Regions from separate parts of the Homo sapiens genome. Here region 1 is linked to region 2. Evidence: promoter capture Hi-C in human tissues and cell types (Jung and others, 2019). All regions are on one chromosome and are shown on one strand. Each heading gives the region's core, a stretch centred on a gene start or on the middle of the fragment in contact. The rest is flanking DNA. Distances are from core to core; before and after follow the strand shown.

What was found. Contacts are between HindIII fragments. The study calls those that stand out against the background at their distance.
Region 1: a fragment that was not itself captured here is called in contact with the fragment with the promoter of PDE6C in region 2 in 2 of the 25 tissues and cell types used here (mesenchymal stem cells and thymus).

What each region holds. Positions count from the first base shown.
Region 1 is chr10:93,956,483-93,962,811 of GRCh38, forward strand. It overlaps the pseudogene PIPSL. Among named protein-coding and RNA genes, the nearest start is that of PLCE1, 34 kb to the right of the region's middle. The HindIII fragment of the contact is 3,706 bases long and covers 53-3,758 here.
Region 2 is chr10:93,608,150-93,614,133 of GRCh38, forward strand. PDE6C (phosphodiesterase 6C) reads left to right here and starts at 4,388. Exons shown (of 22, transcript NM_006204.4): 1 at 4,388-5,056. The coding sequence starts at 4,577. The HindIII fragment of the contact is 13,972 bases long and covers 3,693-5,984 here.

The DNA.
Region 1 (6,329 bases), core at 656-3,155, 350 kb after region 2:
TACCTTCTGCTTAAAATAATGTATGGTGGCCACTATATTTATATAGTTGGAAAAAAAAGGAAAGTTAAGACTATAGATATATACTTTCTCTTTAAGAAAGAGAAATCATTTTTGACATATATTTTTGGAAAAGCAGGCACTAAACTGATGATCTCTTAGGAGAGTGGAGATGGGATTAATGGGAATGTTTATTCTCTTAATGTCCAAATTTTCTTTGTTGCTTTTTTTTAAAAAGTGGTGTTTAATTTTCTTTTTTCTTTTCTTTCTTTCTTTCTTTCTTTCTTTCTTTCTTTCTTTCTTTCTTTCTTTCTTTCTTTCTTTCTTTCTTTTTTTTGAGACACGGTCTTGGCAAGATCACAGTTCACCACAGCCTCCATCTGCCAGGCTCAAGTGATCCTCCCACCTCAGCCTCCCAAGTAGCTGGGACTACAGGCTCATGCCACGATGTCCAACTATTTTTTTTTACTTTTGGTAGAGATAAGGTCTCACCATGTTGCCCAGGTTGGTTTCAAACTCCTGAGCTCAAGCGATCCTCCAGCCTCAGTCTCCCTAAGTGCTGAGATTACAGGCATGAGCCACTGCACCAGCCAGCATTTAAGATTCTTATAACTAAATAGTACTTTTAAAAGAAAGAAAAGGACCAAATAATATCAGATAAATGTGGTCATACTGACCACTTGGTAATGGCCTGTTCAAGGCTGAAAACTTCTCCAATCGATCATTTCCATTCTTATTCGTCTAGTCTCAACCTATTTTCATTTCTTAATTGACTTGATTTTTCTTCAAAGATTAAATGCATTTGTTTCTTGTTGAACTCAGAATTTTCAGTTATTGTGCTTGTTTCAAAATGCTTTAAAATTAGTTCCTGCATTGTATTGAGAGACATATCAACTGAACTCTAAGGACTGGTGAGGTCTTGCAAGCCCACCACTGCTTTCATTTGTTTGCAAACCCCATGGGACTCCTATTTCCAAGTGCTGGCAGTAGACAGAGCTGGCAAAATTTTGTTCTGACAGACTACTTTATTCTTGTCAAGGAAAGTTTGTCAGTGGAAACTATGTCAGTAGAGGAGCTTCTGGAGAATTCCAGCATCAGGGGCACTGGGTTGTTATTTCTGGCTTGGCTGTAGAATGAACCCTGGGACTATAGGCAAGTCACTTAATCTTTTAAAGTCTCACCTGAAAATAAGAATAATACCATGATTCTGTGACTCAAAGATACACATTTTCCCTGCATTTTATTATTCCTGAAATGGAATGTGTCTAAATAAACTTGCCAGCTTCCAGGCCCAGTATGGATACCCCAGTATGAGATATAAGTAACATTTGTGAATGTAGGTGAACTTGGAGGGCTACATAGAAGGTATCTGCTTATTTGATATCACATGGGATGAGTGATTTGCATTGATAGCAGCACACATGTTTATTTGCATTTCATGTTAAATAAATCAAAATTTACATTTATTCTGATCAAAGCAAATCTTTGTCTCTGGAGGACTGAATAAATATTTTCCTATTAACAAGCAACAGCCTCTAATAACTGTTATTAAATTGTCATCCTCAACTGATGACATATTATAATCAAGGAAAAGGGAAAATAATACCAGCAGGCTAATGTTGAAGATTCAATAAGATTAAGCTCATAAAATGCTTAGCATAGTGCCTGGTGCATAGGACGCACTCAAGAAATATTGTCATCATTGTCATCATCATCATCACCACCATACTTTATAACATATTACTCAACAATTGCTTTCCATAGCCATATTTCATTCACAACCCCTGTGTAAGGAAGGCCGTAAAGTCTGATGCACCCAGAGACATTGGACAAGTCACTTAGTCTGAATAGTGGTTCTCAACTTTTGCTGAATTTCAGAATTACCTTGTGAGCTTTTGAAAAATATCAGTACCTGAGTCCCAGGCCAATTAAATTAGAATCTTTAGGGGTTGGGTCCAAGTATTTGAAATGTTATTAAAGCTTCCTGGTGATTTTAATGTGAATTATTTTATGTTAGTGGTTCTCAACCTTAGCTGCACATGAGAGATCACACAGCTCAGATGAAGCTCATCAGCATTTCAAGGGGTCAGATTTAGGCATCAGGATTTCTTTTCTTTTCTTTTCTTTTCTTTCTTTCTTTCTTTCTTTCTTTCTTTCTTTCTTTCTTTCTTTCTTTCTTTCTTTCTTTTTTTTTTGAAGCAAAGAAGGAAAAAATCTTGCCAAGCTTTATTTAGGCTATAATGATTACAGATAACACACATCTAACCCTATATTCCGTGCTTCCCATGCAGTCCCCTGAGCAGGCTCAGCTACCCTTTCCCTCCAGTCTCACTTCTTGTCTTCCTCCTTCTTGTCCTTCTTGCTGTCCTTGGTGGCCTGGGAGGCCAGGGAGCCCACAGCATTTCGAATGGCTTCATTGTTGGGATCCACACCTGGGAGGTTCTCTAGGACACTCTGAAGGAACTCAGGGTCTTGCATCACGTCGTAATCATCCTCCTCCTTGGCTGGCTCAGATGTGTCCATGGCTGAGCTGGCATCAATGTCTGCTGATTCTGCCAGGCCAAACTCTGCTCCCTGCAGGGACATCTGCATGGCACAAACAATCTTCTCTTCCTCAGTCATACTGCTTAGGTCAGGAAGCCCAGTGTGGCCAAACTCTTGCTGGCTGATGGTCATCTTCAGCAGGGCATCGTCTGAGTCTTCAGTCCCAGTCGTAGCAATCCCGGCCTCAGCAGCAGAAGCTGCAGCTGCCTGCCGGGCCTCCTCCTCCTGCCGCTGCCGCTGCTCTTCCATAAATACACGAAGGACCAAGGCCAGCTCAGGATCAGCACTGGGATCTACTCCAAATTCAAAGTCACTGGCACCAAGACCCATCATGGCACCACCTTCACCAGCCAAAATCGGAAAACTGATGAGAGCATCAGCCAAACTGGGCCCAGGAGGCACTGTCACCAGATGAGAACCGGTTCCATCTTTGCCATTCAACGTGTTTACAAAGGCTGTCAGCTTTTCTGTGTTCACCTCCTCTTCCCCAAAATTGATAATGTCAACATTTACTTTCTCCTTCTTGAGGCATTTAGCCAGTTTCACCAGATTCTTCTCATTGTCCTCCACCGGGTTTCCCACAAAGGCAATGATGCGGATCTTGTGATTGTTGCCTTGTCGGTGCTTCAGAGCCAGATGGGCCACGTGGATGCCCATGCAGAAGGTGATCTTGCCCTTGGGTTGGACAGTATGTAGCTTGGACAGGATACGGCCAGTGTCTGGGGTGAGTGTGGTCAGCACTTCACAGTCATTATCCAGTGTGATAAGGCCCACGTTGTTCTCAGGGTTGCTGCGGGTCTTTGAATGACAAACTGTGTTGACAGCATCCTGCTGGGCCTGCAGCCGGGTGGGTAAGAAGTCTCCATTCCCCATATACTCACTGTTGTCCACACTTGTAGTTAGCATTTGCAAAGTCTCTTCAACTAGAGGTGAGAAACTGGGGTCAGGAGTAGGTGAGCCCTCACTGATTTCCTCCAAAGGTGGAGTCTGAGGTAAAACATCAGGACAACCAAGGTGAACACCTGGCTCCACTTCCGCCTTTGTTGTCACTTGTGCCTTGTGTTCCCCAGAGACCAATGGCTGGTAAGTAATGCAGGAGTTGCCACTGGAGCCTGCTCGCTGAGAGAAAGATGAGCCAGACCGAAGTTTTTTGGAAGGAGAAGGCTTCAAGGGAATCTTCTTAAATACCGTGTTGCACATGAAGCGCTGGAACCATTCAGCATAGAAGCCTGGGCGATGCACTGAGACAGTGTCTCCGTCATGTATCAGGGCTTTCCAAGAGTGCTCCAACTTCTTAACAAACCTGTAAGACTGTAGAATGTCAATGATGCCAATATAAAGCAGAAGCCTTTCCCCTTTACTATTCCGGGCAGGGATGCCACCCATATGGTCATCGGTCTCCATGGTGCCACCCCGTCGAGCCTCTCCCTGGATGGATTCCATGGCTGTGGAATACAGAGCCTTTTGGGGGGCTGGTCTTCGAGTATCAACTGAGTATTGTGTTTCGCTGCTTAAGGGCTCTCGTTGTGCATGATCTATATTATGGATTGACATCAAGAGGCTATAATCCATTATCTTGAAGCTCTGCAGCACCAAACAGTCACGCTGCAGGGTCTTACAGAGAGCGTTGTGCACGTCAGCATCCAAAAAAAGACCATCAGGGATGTCTTGTAAGAAGTCTAGGTCTTTAAATGTGGGAAGAGGCTTCTCTCGCTCTTTCTGGGAAGCCCGCCGCCTGTAGGTTGAGCCTTTGAGGTCATATTTGATATGCATTTTTACCGATCTTGGTAAAAGATTGTTCATCACCACAATCCGAATGTTCTTGCCACCTGTCTGCACACAGTACAGTCCATAGAATTTAGGCAGCAAAGTCCGAGGGTTCTGGTTGAGGTTTATGTAGTATCCTGGAAGCAGCTTCTGCAGAAACTCCGCTTCTTTATGTCGGACTGTCTTAACAATGAACTCATCGTCGCTGGACACATAGAACAGGGAACCACTAGCTCCAGAGCTACAGAGTTCAATCAGCGGCTCACTGCAGAGGGAATACAAGTAATCATCGGGCCGGATACCAAATAGCTCCCAGAAGTAGCGGAAGGCAACAGGTGCATAGGTCTTGAAACGAAAGGCATTGTAGTGATGAGCAGGGGTCAGGTTGCTCCCTTCACTGGGAAAGAAGATACTCTCCACCATGTGGAAATCTTGCATGAGGACATCACTCTCTGGTTTGGTACTCAGGCTCCCCACAGTGTGGGTAATGCCTAACTGGATGGCACCTTTCAAGGCTGATGAGGTTGTCCCTCCTGAGGAATCAACACTTCTATGGCCTATTTTCTTGATGGGCATGCCAGAGGCATAAGGCACCTCAGATGCCATGGGACTCTTGATTCCAGATGCTGAGGACGAGGTACAGGAAGGGACCGCGGGATCAACGGAGAAAAACCGACCGAAGACAACGGCCCGGAGGAGGCCGACGCCATCTTGGCAGCCCCCTCCCCCTCAAGGGCCTGGCTCTCTTTCAATCCGGCTCTTCCTCTTCTCGGAATCGAATCTTCCCAATGTCTCTTTATAGAACCCACGTTCTGTGGGCCCCCTCCCCGCCCCCTCCAGGGCTCCCTCAGACAAGTCGAGCCGGCTGCTGGACCAGCTCAAGTCCACACCATTCGCCTGGCATGGGGGAGAACTCACGTCTCGCACCCCCTCCACAAGTTTAACTGCTTTCCACAGGGGATACTTTCCCCTTTCACAGAAGAGTAAGCTTAAGCTGGCTGCTGGGACCTTGCGTCCAGACCAAGCCACATCTGAAAAAAAAAACGAGGCATGAAAAGTCCCAGAGGAGCAAACGCCCCCTCTCCGTCCTCCCTAGCCACCGCCTGTTAATCGCCCAACCCGGCCAGGATTTCTTTTCTGAGTAGTGGATCCCATACATCAGAATCATCTGGGGCACTTGTAATTTAATCCAAACTCATGTGCTCCAGTCCCCCCAATTTTTATTTAAGTCTGGGGTGAGGGCCCTACAATCTGTGCTTTTAAAAAGTTCCCGTTTTTCTCTGGTATAGAGTTTGAGAATTGCCAGTCTAATAAGCCTCTGACTGGTGGTGATGGTTGCCAGTCTGATAAGGCCCCACCTCCAACATTGGGGATCATATTTTGATGTGATATTTGGGGGGGGGAATATCAAAACTATATCAGAGACTGTTCATTCAGCAAGCACTATAATGCTATTTACCTGCAGCACCTTACACTGTACCTGGCACACAGGAGATGCCCAGTGAATATTTCTGAATGGATGAAATGCCTGCTGTATTAGTCAGGGTTCTCTTAGAGGGACAGAACGAATAGGAGATATATATATATATATACATATATATATACTATATATATAATATATACACATATATATACTATATATATAGTATATATACATATATACTATATATATAATATATACATATATATACTATATATATAATATATATACATATATATACACAATATATATAAATATATGTACATATATATATAAAAGTTTATTAAGTATTAACTCACACAATCACAAGGCCCCACAATAGGCTGTCTGCAAACTGAGGAGCAAGGAGAGCCAGTCCGAGTCCCAAAACTGAAGAACTTGGAGTCCGATGTTCAAGGGCAGGAAGCATCCAGCAGGGGAGAAAGATGTAGGCTGGGAGGCTAGACCCGTGTCTTCTTTTCACGTTTTTCTGCCTGCTTTATATTCGTTGGAAGCTGATTAGATTGTGCCCACCAGTTTAAGGGCCCACTGATTCAAATGT
Region 2 (5,984 bases), core at 3,138-5,637:
TGAATCCCACCACTTTGAAATAACTTTTTTTTTCTGAGATAGGTTCTTGTTCAGTCGCCCAGGTTGGAGTGCGGTGGTGCGATCACAGCTCCCTGCAGCCTCTACCTCCTGATCTCAAGCCATCCCCCCATCTCAGTCCCAGTCTCAGCTGAGACTACAGGCATGTGCCACCAAGCCCAGCTAATTTTTGTAATTTTTTGTAGGGCGGGGTTTCACCATGTTGCCTAGGCTGCTGTCAGACTCCTGAGTTCAAGTAATTTGCCTGTCTCGGCCTCCCAAAGTGCTGGGATTATAGGCATGAGCCACTGTGTCCTGCCTTGAAATAATTTCACTTAATATTTTGGTATATATACCTCTGTCTGTGCATATTAATGGAATTATGCTGCAATACTGTTTGTAATTAACTGCATATCATAAATATTTTTTCATGTCAATAGACTTTAACAATATTATTAGGTTGGTACAAAAGTAATTGCGGTTTTTGCCACTAAAAGTAATGGGGAAAATCGCTATTATTTTTGTACCAACCTAATAGCTGCGTAGCTTTCTATTTTACAGATCTAATACCATTTATTTACTCAACCTCCTACTATTAAGTGTCTAGGCTATTTCTGATCTTTTACTTTTATACCCACACTCATGGTAAGCACCCTTGCAACTATATTAATCACATACATTCTTAATTATTTCTCTAAGATGAATTCATAAAAGCAGAATTGTGGGGTCAAAGCCTATACACATTTTTAGGTTGTTTGATAATAAGCCAAATGCAATAAAGTATCTTAATCTGTATCCCAATGTCCAGTATTCTGTTTTCCTCCAACTTATCTTCCTCCTTAAGTTTGTAAAGAAGAACACTAATAATGTTGCCTCCCACTTCAAAAATTGTCCAGGATTCAAAATCCTCAGTCTAGGCTTTGAAGCCCTTCTAATCTGGGCCCGGCCCACCTTTTCAGGGTCACCTCTCACTGTCCTCCCTGTATTACCCTACACCCCATGCTATTGCTTCTGAACACTCTTGATTTCTACCCTGTCTTCAGCCACACTAGATATGATCCCTTTCGTGAACTCCGATAGCCATGTACATGTGCCTCACTTCCAGCATTAATTGTATTCTGTTCTATGTCTCATGGGCTTTTTACGCACTAGTCTTACCTCCCTTCCCACACCACAAGTGCTTGTAATGCTGGGACCACCCCCTGAGTCCCCGACAGTAGAAGTGTAACTGTCAGAATTGTCTTGGTGATGCTGCAGTAACAACAACCCTCAGGTCTCCGAGGCTGAAAACAAGACAAGTTTATTTCTCATCATGCTACATGTCCATCTCGGGTCATCCAGGGGCCTCTGTTACATGACATCCTCACTCTGGGATTCAGGGGCCCTTTCATCTGAAACTGATGTGGCAGCAGAGGGAACAGAGACCTGGAGAGCCTCCCGTTGGCAATTAATTGTTCCTGTCTGAAAGTGATATTTCTGCCCACAAACCATTTGTTAAAATCAGTCACATGGCTGTACCAGAGGGAGGAAGAGTAATCTTCCCATGTAACTGGGAGAAGGAAACAATCATATAATATAAGGGGAACTTGAAGTCTCTATCACAATAGCTAGAATGGTGCCTTGCTTGTAACAGACAATCAATAGACAAATGTTGAAAGAATGAACAAATGAGGCCAGGTGAAGTGGCTCACACCTGTAATCCCAGCACTTTGGGAGGCCAAGGAGGGCAGATTACCTAAAGAGTTCGAGACCAGCCTGGCCAACATGGTGAAACCTTGTCTCTACTAAAAATACAAAAAAATTAGCCAGGTATGGTGGCATGCACCTGTAATCCCAGCTACTCCGGAGGCTGAGGCAAGAGATTCGCTTGAACCCGGGAGGCGGAGGTTGCAGTAAGCCAAGATCGCGCCTGGGCAATAGAGGGAGACTCCATCTCAAAAAAACAAAAAAGAAAGAAAGAATGAACAAATGAATGAATCTCTAACTAGTTATAAAAACAAAAGAATGCTGACTATAATAGGATGTTTCTTTTTCAAATTAATATTCACTTTTATAAGATTATGAAAGATGGGCCGGGCACGGTGGCTCATACCTGTAATCCCAGCACTTTGGGAGGCCGAGGCGGGTGGATCACGAGGTCAGGAGATCAAGATCATCCTGGCTAACACAGTGAAACCCCGTCTCTACTAAAAATACAAAAAATTAGCCGGGCATGGTGGCAGGAGCCTGTAGTCCCAGCTACTCGGGAGGCTGAGGCAGGAGAATGGCATGAACCCAGGAGGCAGAGGTTGCAGTGAGCCGAGATCGCACCACTGCACTCTAGCCTGGGCAATAGAGCAAGACTCTGTCTCAAAAAAAAAAAAAAAAAGATTATGAAAGTTGAACATATATGGGCATTTTGTTTTTTCTTTTTCTATTAAGTATAAGTCTGTATATGAAATGCAAATATGTGTTTTTCCCTCTCTGTTTCAAGAGGGAAGGATGAAACCAGGAAATCGTGAGCACACCACATACTTACAGGAGAAGTAGGAACTGTACCATGAGTCACACAAAATAACTAGGTAAAAAAGAGTGTCCAAAATTGTTAGATAAGGAAGATGGTCCCATAGGAGGGGTGACTCAGTTGACTCAACTCTCTCCTGGGAAATACACTTCTGCATTATCCTATTTATAATAACAGGGTGTTATGAAGTAAATAGTCACCCAAAGAGGAACCTCCTGAGAGTAGAGTTGAGTGTGACATAGGACAGTCCAAGAAAATATGTGCACCTGACAAGGTGCTTTGAGGTAGCAGGTGAAGCTCAATCACAAGAAGTGGCATAACTCAACAAATGACTCTTTCTGTACCCCTGGGAAAACCATGTTTCCCACCAAGAATCTCTCAATTCATGACAGGGAATGTGCAACCTCAACGGATCTCTCTTTCTTTTGTGACTATTAAGATTACTATCTCTCAGGCTGACACAGGTGGATCACCTGAGGTTGGGAGTTCAAGACTAGCCTGGCCAACATGGTGAAACCCCATCTCTACCAAAAATACAAAAATTAGCTGGGCGTGGTGGCACCCACCTGTAGTCCCAGCTACTCGGGAGGCTGAGGCAGGAGAATCACTTGAACCTAGGAGACGGAGGTTGCAGTGAGCTGAGATCGCACCACTGCACTCCAGCCTGGCAATAGAGCGAGACTCAGTCTCAAAAAAAAAAAAAAAAAAAAAGAAAAAGATTACTATCTAGAGAGGTAAATCTTAGAGAACTCAATGAAACTCATAGGGTTTCTATTTTTGAAGCAAACTTAAATGTGGGTGTAACAATAATTTTTAGAGTCACTGTAACATGTGTGTGTTTTCCACTTAAGAGAATTTGTCATATTAGGTTTGTAGCTTTATTGAAGTGTTTAAAACACCTTGACTAAGTTTGAAACCAACATTTAAGTATCGAAGGCAATTGGTTCATGAATTAATAGTTTGAATTATTAGTTGCATAATAGTGTTTAAATATTTGAGGAAATGTGTTTAATAGATGTAAAAGCTTAGTAAAGTGAACATTAAACAAAACTAAGTAGTGGTAAGTGTTCTTTCTATGCCAGTAGCCCCTGAGACGTTAAGGATCCTAGCAACAGACAAGATATCTATCATCTAGTAGATTTAGTAGACTGTATGTTGTAGCAAAATCGCATGACCTCTGGCTATTACTATTGAAAACAAAATCCTAACTAAGATACTTAGCAGAAAAACCCAGCCAGCAACTATGTAGGTTACCTTTTGTAATTACAGTCTCTCGACAAGGGTTATTATTCAATTCATGACTTGATTAGGTTTGGATCATTGGCAAATATTTTGCTATGTTCACCTCTTTAGTAATAAGCTTGAGGTTTACTCCTTTAAAACACTTCTGAGGTCAAGCTTTCTGAAGTGACAGGGATTGAGAGGTGAAGGTTCTAGAGAAAGAGGAGGCCAAGCAACCTTGGTGATCAAAAGACTTTTAAGAAAAGGAAAGATTAATATTCACCTTTATGTTGCAGTGATGCAAACTGTTCCATATCTCCCAGATGTTCATTACAGTTGCTATATAAACAAAAAAAATCCAAGCACTTCCGAGGTCTAAATAGTTTTACTTCCTATAGCTATCATACAAGAACGATTCAAAGTGCCAATTGTTGCCAATGTCGTGTCATTCATGGATATGTCAGTGATTCTTCCTTGCTGTGGACAGCAGCCGACATTCAGTTATTTTTCTGGAATAGACACCTCAGCTTGCTACTTGCTGGGCTGATCTAAGATACTCTGAAGATTCGCTAGGGACTTATGAGCTACTAATGCTCAGGGATTTAGTGTCCTGAAGAACTCTTTAATCCTGTGCTTCCTGAATCCCACCCTAAGCCAGGGCCTTCTGTCACATCCCAAGAGTTACAGGCAGTTTGAAAGCTCTGCTTTCTGCTTGACCTTTGGAAGTCCTATGAGGGACCATTTACGGTTTCCTCAGTAATTTCCACCAGGATGAATTTCCTTCTCATCACTCTGCCTCAGGTAGTGCTCTGAAGGTCGTCCTTTCTGAACAAACGCAGCAAAGCAAGCCACACCATGGGTGAGATCAACCAAGTTGCCGTGGAGAAATACCTGGAGGAGAACCCTCAGTTTGCCAAGGAGTACTTTGACAGGAAGTTGCGGGTGGAGGTGCTGGGAGAAATCTTCAAGAACAGCCAGGTGCCAGTCCAGTCCAGCATGTCCTTCTCTGAGCTGACCCAGGTGGAGGAGTCAGCCCTGTGCTTGGAGCTGCTGTGGACCGTGCAGGAGGAGGGGGGCACCCCAGAGCAGGGGGTTCACAGGGCCCTGCAGAGGCTGGCCCACCTGCTCCAGGCTGACCGCTGCAGCATGTTCCTGTGCCGGTCCCGGAACGGCATACCTGAGGTGGCCTCTAGGTTGCTGGATGTCACCCCCACCTCCAAGTTTGAGGACAACCTGGTGGGCCCTGACAAAGAAGTTGTGTTTCCATTGGACATTGGGATAGTGGGTTGGGCTGCTCACACGAAGAAAACTCATAATGTCCCAGATGTGAAAAAGGTAGGTGGCCTTATGACAGTGGGGCAGAGGTCTTGGCAGGGTCAGGGAGGAACAAATGGGAAAGAGAGATAGTGCTATCCTTGTGGCATTAGTTTGGCAATAACCGGGGGAATGTGGGTGGCAGGGAAGAGGATCACCCAGGCCTAGTGTTGCCAAATTTAGCAAATGAAATTTCAAGTTGCCCAGTTGAACTTGAATTTCAGATAAACAATGAATTATTATTTTCTGAAGTATAAGTATGTCCCATGTAAAGTTTGGCATTTTATCAGGTGATCCTACCTGGCCCTGGTGCATTCCACACACCCTCCCTTACGCCTCCTCCAGTGCTCTGGGGGACTTTCCTTCTCAGCAACACCAGCAAAACAAACTACCCCACTAGGGAGATGGGCCAACGTGCCCAGATGCCAAGACTTGTGAACTGCTCCCCATGCCTCTCATTCACAGTCCTTCGAAAACATTCAGGTTTTTTGGATGGATTTGCTAGTAAATCAATTCTTTCATCTATCGACCAAATGTGCAAAGAGAAAAAATGATGCCATTTGAAAGTTCAGATGTTCAAATTTGGAATTCATTACATATGTGAATTTAGGTGATGGTTAAGTGCAATTGACCACTCCCACTGCTCCATAACCCAGATCTTTCAAGAATGAATTCCAATCAAGTAAGTGGGACATTTGGACCCTCTTGAAGACCAACAGCATACTGCACAAATACAAGGCATTGAGATGCCCCTTATAGAAATAGAAAAACTTTATTCTTACCATTAGAGTACATGTTCATTTTTAAACAATTATAAGATACAAATAAACCAGAGGAGGAAATGCTAATCACCCATCATCCCTCCCCTCAGCAATAATCAAGGGTACCAGCTTGGAGATTCTCCTGGCAGCTCCTTCTCTACACATGTGGTCCATTATTACAGTTTACC